Regions from separate parts of the Homo sapiens genome. Here region 1 is linked to region 2. Evidence: promoter capture Hi-C in human tissues and cell types (Jung and others, 2019). All regions are on one chromosome and are shown on one strand. Each heading gives the region's core, a stretch centred on a gene start or on the middle of the fragment in contact. The rest is flanking DNA. Distances are from core to core; before and after follow the strand shown.

Region 1 (4,328 bases), core at 992-3,491, 430 kb after region 2:
CATTTCAGCCCCCTGAGTAGCTGGGATTACAGAAGGGTGCTACCATGCCTGGCTAATTTTTTTTTTTTTTTTTTTTTTGAGATGGAGCCTTAAAAGGATCTTGAGACAGGATCTTGCTCTGTCACCCAGGCTGGAGTGCAAGTGGAGTGATCTCAGCTCACTGCAACCTCTGCCTCCTGGTTCAAGTGATTCTCCTGCCCCAGTCTTCTGAGTAGCTGGGATTATAGGTGTGCACGACCACACCTGGCTAATTTTTGTATTTTTAGTAGAGACGGGGTTTCACCATGTTGGCCAGGCTGGTCTCGAACTCTTGACCTGAAGTGATCTGCCGGCCTTGACCTCCCAAAGTGGTGGGATTACAGGCGTGAGTCACCATGCCTGGCCTTTAAAAATTTTTTTTTGTAGAGACAGGGTCTCACTGTGTTGCCCAGGCTGGTCTTGAACTCCTGGGCTCAAGCAATCCTTCTGCCTTGGCCTCCCAAAGTGCTGGGATTACAGGTGTGAGCCACCATGCCCAGGCTTATTTTATTTTACTTTAGAGAAGGGGCCTTCTATGTTGTCTAGGTTGGTCTTGAACTCCTGGGATCAAGTGATCCTCCTGCCTCAGCCTGCCAAGTAGCTGGGACTACAGGTGTGCACCACCATGCCTGGCTTTGTATTTTAATTTTTATGAAGATAATCTTGTGTATAGTTAAAAAGGTCAAATAGCTTATGCTGAAAAAAAGGGCTTGCTTGTTCCACCTTTCCCATTTCATGAAAACAAAACTATACCTAAGAGGCAATACCACACTTAACACTTTTATTTATTTTCCTACATTTTAAAAGTAATACACTTTTACTTCTATTTTTTGATTTTCTGTTTTAGATGTCATCTATTTATTTCCTAGTATAGAATATAAAATTTATTATGTTTTATGCCTGTCTACCTTCCCCAACATACTCCTCCCATTTCTCCCCTTTGCCAATATATTTAGTCACAATTTTTTGGGTAAGTCAACATCTAGAGTTTACCTTATTGTTTTATGTGTAATTATTTTCAGAGATGAGTCACGCAGTGGTTGGACAACAATTCTTCATGGGTCATTTATATTTCTGCACATTTTAAGGGCACAGGTAGTGACAGGTTTTGTTCCAGACTGCGATTTCCAGGATATAAATATAGTGAATAGCCTTGGACTATAGAGACAGCATCTCCCTCCAGAGCAGATGACAGGTGTGTTTGCTATCCAGTATGGTAAAGATAATGTCTTCCACGGGGCCAAAAGTCATGTAGGTTTGCTTTCAACCCATTATAAAAGACTGAGGTTCCCCAAGCTCAGGGTTTTTTAGCTGTGATACAAACCCACTGCATATGCAGCATCTGCCTTGGATACTCTTTGTCACCACCATGGGAACTGGAGGGCAAGGGGAACCAGAGTGACCATAAAGCTCATATTGCTTACTGTTTTGTGAGTAATAAAATCCTTTGCCTCTGACCTGGGAGTCTCAGGTCTTTCCCCAGCATCCATGAAACTATGGCAGGCTAACTTGTTGGCTTGCAAATAAGATGAAGTCTCAGACCATTCCCAGTTCTTTATCGTAGTAAACTCTGGCTTCATTTCCTTTCTTGTACTTTCCTTGTACTTATACTTCTCAGGCTTAATATTTTGTGTGTGTGTGTGTGTGTGTGTGTGTGTGTGTGTGTGTGTGTGTTTTCTTTGCTAAGTTTGTACATCCTGATGAGATACAGTGGGAAAAGCATAGCATAGTTTCCGTAATATTCCTGTGAAGGATACCTGTCCTGTGTCTGCTCCCGAGAAACACTGTGATGGTCATTACATGGAATATGAAGCTTTTACTCTTTATTTTAATTCAATTTTATTTTTTTGAGATGGAGTCTCGCTCTGTCACCAGGTTGGAGTGCAGTGGCACGATCTCGGCTCACTGCAACCTCTGCCTCATCGGCTCAAGGGATTCTCATGCCTCAGCCTCCTGAGTAGCTGGGACTACAGGCACGCCCCACCACACCCAGCTAGTTTTTTTGTATTTTTAGTAGAGATGGGGTTTCACCGTGTTGGCCAGGATGGTCTCGATCACTTGAGCTCGTGATCCGCCCGCCTTAGCCTCCCAAAGTTCTGGGATTACAGGCATGAGCCACTGCACCAGGCCGCTTTTACTCTTTAAAAATGGTTAAGGACATCAAAGGCAGAATTATTGTTTTAAGCTGAATGAATATGATGAGACATAAGAACTACATGCAACATATATTCCTTGGAACAATCCTGAACCAGAAAGGAAAAAGAGAGAGTTTTGGACAGTTGGCAAAATTTGAATGGGAGAGTTTTCTTGTTTTGGGGAAATACACACTGGATTATTTAGGGATAATGGGACATCGTGTCTGAAGCTTTCTCTTAAAAAGTTCAGAGTATGACTAATGATAATGGATCACTTCCTCTCCCTACATATACACAGAGAGACGGGGTTGGTGTCCATGCATATTCAGAAAAATGTTAATGTTTGGACAATCTGAATGAAAGGGATACAAGAATTCTTTGTTCTGATCTGAAAGTTTTTATGTAAGTTATTTTAAAATAAATTATTTTTTATAAAGAGTGGCAGTAAATCCTGATTAGAAGTTCCATATTCAGGCAGGGCGCGGTGGCTCACTCCTGTAATCCCAGCACTTTGGGAGGCCGAGGTGGGCGGATCACGAGGTCAGGAGATCGAGACCATCCTGGCTAACATGGTGAAACCCTGTCTCTACTAAAAATACAAAAAATTAGCTGGGCTTGGTGGCGGGCACCTGTAGTCTCAGCTACTGGGGAGGCTGAGGCAGGAGAATGGCGTGAACCCGGGAGGCGGAGCTTGCAGTGAGCTGAGATTGCGCCACTGCACACCAGCCTGGGAGACAGAGTGAGACTCCATCAAAAAAAAAAAAAAAAAAAAAAAAAAAAGAAGTCCCATGTTCCTGTGAAGCTTATCAAGTGTGTCAGGTTTTACTGTAGAGAGCTCAGGCAGGAGCTGGCTGTCTTGGGGGATTCTTGGCTGTCGGTATTCATAGGGCTAGACAGTTTCCCTAAAGGACATTTTCATTATCTCCTATGATGGAGTATAAGTCTAACAGTCATTGTTCTGAGGGCCTACTACCAGAAGGGAACTAGAAATCTCACTCTTCTGAAAATAGACTGATTGAACATCTATGTTATCCAATGAACGTCTATGTTATTAATAAGAAACCTACCATCTTTTGTGACATGTAGTCACCTGCCTGCATGGACGGTGGGAGGAGACTGAAGAGTCTGTTACCTCCTTTTTCAGACTTTTAACAAATTCTTCTGTTTTCAGCCCTACTTGCAAACTTAACACCTTCAGAGGCCCCTGGTTCCTCTATTGATAGAAGTTTTCTGAGTTCATGAATCAACTTTCTTCTAGTTGTTTTTTTCTTTTTCAGGTACTCAGCAGAGCAGAGATATATGAGTCCAAAGCCATTTACCAAAGGTTATAAGCTTTTCATTTTGTGTACAATAATCATCTTTTTTTGGTGTACAGTAATCATCTTCTATAATCACCTTTTCTGTTCTCCTCATTTTTGTGGAATTATGCCCTTTCACATCATTTTTGTTATTTTAGTGGGGTTTCAGGAAGGAGTAAGAGAAATGTGTGTGTGTGTTTCCTATCACTTGCAATTAACAGGAAGATCTTTCATTACCTGAGCTTGTTTTTTATCGAAGATTAACTCCCTATGGGTCAGGAAGTAGACATACTGTGTAATCATTTGGCACAGACTCCAGGCTAACACTAAAATATTATTATATTGGGAAATGAGAATAAAGAGAACATTTTTTAATATAAAAAGGAAATGATTATTTCTTGGATGATAATTTTTTTTCAAACTGAACCTTTGATTTGTATTTTTTTATTCTTGGATTACTTTTTCTTCATAGTCCATCCATTGTTCAATTAAAATGGGCAAAGGAAAGAGGTCCAGCCCTTAGAATATTTTTATATTAAATAAATACTTATAAAGTAATAAAATTTTCATTTTGTTTCCATACTATGAATAGAAATAGCCTCCTTTATAATATCCCCAGAGTATGAATAATAGAGAAATTATTGATGTATTTAGAAAGACTTCTTTAAACATACTCTACATTTTTATCTCTGAGAAAAAGATAATTAAGCTTATGATTCCCAAATTGTGCACTGAGGCACCCCAAGAAGTTGCAGTGACCTCACAGGGGCCACACGACATATTGAAAATTCTCAAGAAAAACACAGAAACATTTGTTGGCTGCTGCATGAACTACTGGCTCAAAATACCTTATAATTTAAACCTTAGATTGTGCTGT
Region 2 (3,823 bases), core at 360-2,859:
TGTATCCTCACTGGGGTGGTGGTTACTCAAGTGTATGTATTTGCCAAAACTCATCAAATAATGCTTTTAAAATGGAAGCATTTTATTTCTGTAAATTATTCCTTGATTTTTTTTAAAAAGCCAACAACAAGAGAGAAGAGTTTTAAGAATAGCAAGTAAACAATGTGAAATGCCATAGGAAGGAAGACAATTCTGAGAAGTGAAAATAACTTGTTTCAATTTTTAAATTTTAGTGATTTTAGAACACTTTTATTGAATCACTTTAAAAGAGTCCTTTTTAAAAGAATGCTTTTTATTGAAAAGATGGGTAGAATCCAACATGCAAGGTATCTTAGTCGTAGTTACCTAGAATGAGAAATTCGAAGAGAAAAAGCACAGGCTTTTCATTTCAATTAGTGCATCTCAAACTTCGATGAACATAGGAATCTCCTGGCGGTCTTGTTAAAGTGCAAGTATTGATTTAGGAAATCTCGAGTGGGGCCTGAGATTCTACATTTCTAACAGGAAACCAAGTAATGTCAATGTTGTTTGTTCATCTACTACAATTTAGGTGGCAAGGACACAGATCGCTCCTGCGAGGCACAAATGCCATAACTGGAGTGCTAATTTGGCCCAGAAGTTTCCAAGATCTAGACAGTCCATTCCTAACCATCAGTTCAAGAATGCCTACATGTAGATTGACAGGCTAGCCCTCTTTCTATGTGAGTGCAACCAGAACACATACATATGATGCTGTAGAAAATAACATTGATCTTAGGTCAGTAGCCTTCGGTTCAAGTCCCAGCCTTTTTCTAACCAACTGTGATAACCTGGGTCAATTACTCGTAGGCTGCAACATGAGAGAACAGTTCCTGTTTCTCCTCTGTAGGTTACTGTGAGGACTACAATGGAAAATGTAAGTGAAAGTACTGCAAGAACCATACCCTAAAAAAAACAGAATAGCTTAAACAAAAGTCAAGCAAAGAATTTGAGAACCAAGCAGGACCTAAAAATAAGAGGTGGGGCTTCGGGATTTTTCCCGTGGGCGTTGAGGGATGTACCATATTGGGGGCAGGGGCGCCCCACAACAAATAATGTATTTGAAAAGATTCTGTATTTGAAATTATGCCTCTATCATGACACCTGAATATGAACTTTTCCTTCGTTAGATACTTCAACTGGCACTTAACTATAAGTTCAGTGACAGTATTCTGCTTCTTTCTCCTGAAGTCAAAGTGCCACCCACGCACCTCTCCCGTTCTGCCATCCACCCGCGGCTTTCCTACCCCCGCCGCCTGCGGCCCCCGCCCCGGGGCAGTAGTTTGCACTAGGCTGAAGGGAGAGGTGGAACGGATTCGTCTATCTACGCACCTCGAGGAGGGGTGTGTGAGGAGCTACGTTCCAGAGAACGGTAAGAAACTCCGGCCAGGAAACACGGGATCACAGGAGAACTCGAGGCGAAGGTGCGGCGTCGGTGCAGGAGCGGAGGGGCGGACCCACAGCAGCCCGGCGAGCGCGCAGGTGTGCCCGCGGCCGCGCCACCCTCCCCGCAGCCTTTACGGGATGGAGCCGGCGGGAGAGGGCGGGGCCAGGCGCGCGGCGGCCGCCTCTGCTGCGGCCGGAAACAATAGTGGAGGAACCCGAGCCGCACGGAACGGCGGTGGTGGCCCGCGGAGCCGGACGGTAAAGACCCCGCAGCCCTGCTCCCATCCCACCTGAGCCCCGACCCCCAGTCCCATCGTTCCGCCTCCTTCGAGTTCCGAGCCCCGTGGCCCCTCGCGCTGCTGCGCGCCAGGCGCCCCGACGGACAGACCGACGGAAAGACGGACTTGGGTCCGCGACTCCCTGGGGGCGGCCGCGCGCCCCCAACGCCGAAGGCCGGGCCAGGACCCGGCTCCCCGAGACGCTGAGGCTGGGCGGACCGGCCGCCGTGGCCCTCGGACGCTTTCTTCCCTCTGGGAGGAATCCCGGAGCGATGGGACGAGGCTCTCCCGCCCGCCGGGCTCCAGGATGCCGCGGCTCTCCCAGCTCCGGCTTGGGCCCCTCCGGCGGTGCCCGGCCGGTACCGTGAAGCCGCCGCTCGGCCTTCGGTGTAGTTGCCCCGGACACGGCGGGACGCCCTCCCCGGGTATTCGGTACCCACGTGCATTTTGCTGCCGCCGATCTCCGTTCGATGCGAAGCTTCGCAACTCCGAGTTCGCGAGGCGCATCTGAGGTTCCCCCAATGAAGTTAGCAAAGCAGTGTCCCGTGCAGGTCGTTTTTCCTGTTTCTCACAGCGTTAACTAGGTTGACAGAACCTGGTAGCTGAAAAGGCCTCGCTGCTAAGCCCTCTGATTATTCGAGGTTGGGGGACGAAGGAGGAGGACTAGAATGCCGGCAAATCTCTTTCCTTCAGGTGCCACTAACCCAATCAACTATAGGACAAAAAAGACACGGACATAGTGTCACCTATGGCCTGGCTTTAAGTTTTACTAGCTTTGTGTCTTTCCACAGGAAAAGTGCAATGTTGGAGTGCAAGTATGGCGATGCTTGTTTGATGGAGCTTTTGCTTTAAATGAGCTGAACAGCATCCTTATTTCCTAGAAGTTCCCAGTAAAGGGAACTACCCCAAAGGCAGGTTCATGAAATTGTGTAACTTTCCTTTTCTGTTTCTTAATAGGGGCACTATGAACGAAGAGGAGCAGTTTGTAAACATTGATTTGAATGATGACAACATTTGCAGTGTTTGTAAACTGGGAACAGACAAAGAAACACTCTCCTTCTGCCACATTTGTTTTGAGCTAAATATTGAGGGTAAGGACACAGTATAGTTTTGATCTTATGGAATGAATTTAACACAGCTGCTTTGTACTGATTGTAAGGTAAAACTAAAATGTCTTCAATGATTGGAAATTGTGCTAAGTATGAATAGTGTAGAGATTTGTTAAAGATAAGGTTTCTGGAAATGAAGGTGCAGTTAACAGAGTTACGAATTTAAGAGAAATCTTTTTTTTTTAAAGACCCCTGCAACAACCCCATTTTTCCTAATACAGAAATAAGTATGAGTGTTGACTGGGAAACGTGTTTTCTGGTTTGAGAGCTTATTGAATTGTCAGATTTTAACAGACCTGTGTGTTTTTTATATTAAGAAGTAACATAACAATTTTTTTATTCTTTCGAGCCTATTATGCAAGTATTTGAGTGAGATGAGCCCGAACTCTTTTCTCACCAGTATGATCTTATTATCTGGAAAAATACTTTAAAATTTTTAGATTAACCTCTTTTCAGTGATCACACACACTGTTGGTAATTTTTAAAACCTGAAAAGGTTTTTAAAATTTTTTTAATAATGTCCCTAAGATATATGAAGAAAAATTCTCCAAATCCAAAAAGAAACCCCAAAAAAAAGCCCTATTGGAAGGATTTATTTGGGTTGGTGCAGTTAGTGTTGTCATATTACAATTGATTTTTGGTTTAGATATTTATGAGTCATACTAAAAAAAACCTTAATATTCCTGCAAAAAAAATTTGGCCTGTAATTTGAGTTTTGAGTTGTAACATATCAGTAGAGAGACTTTATTAAACCTCTAGATTTTGGACAGTTTCAAAATAGTTCTTTCCTTTTTTCTGTATTATATATTTGAAATTTTTCATGATCTTTATTTTCTGTTTACTAAGTATGGGGTATGAAATGTTCTTATTGTTTAAAAAAATATAGTGGGGGATTATATACCTTGAAATTCCTGTTAGGACTTGTTATTCAGAAATTATTATGGTCACCAAACAGTATGTGATGGAAGATTATGGATTTCTTGTGGATTACATAGAATATCTATAACTTCAGCTTTAATAAATGTAGTGATT

The links. Contacts are between HindIII fragments. The study calls those that stand out against the background at their distance.
Region 1: a fragment that was not itself captured here is called in contact with the fragment with the promoter of C21orf91 in region 2 in 2 of the 25 tissues and cell types used here (dorsolateral prefrontal cortex and hippocampus).

What each region holds. Positions count from the first base shown.
Region 1 is chr21:17,388,872-17,393,199 of GRCh38, reverse strand. No RefSeq gene overlaps it. Among named protein-coding and RNA genes, the nearest start is that of LINC01549, 48 kb to the left of the region's middle. The HindIII fragment of the contact is 3,165 bases long and covers 659-3,823 here.
Region 2 is chr21:17,817,142-17,820,964 of GRCh38, reverse strand. It overlaps C21orf91 (chromosome 21 open reading frame 91), which reads left to right and starts at 1,609. Exons shown (of 5, transcript NM_001100420.2): 1 at 1,609-1,662; 2 at 2,640-2,773. The coding sequence starts at 2,647. The region is part of intron 2 of LOC124900465 (a long non-coding RNA gene); the gene reads right to left. RefSeq lists an enhancer at 915-964 and a silencer at 1,215-1,994. The HindIII fragment of the contact is 15,791 bases long and covers 1-3,823 here.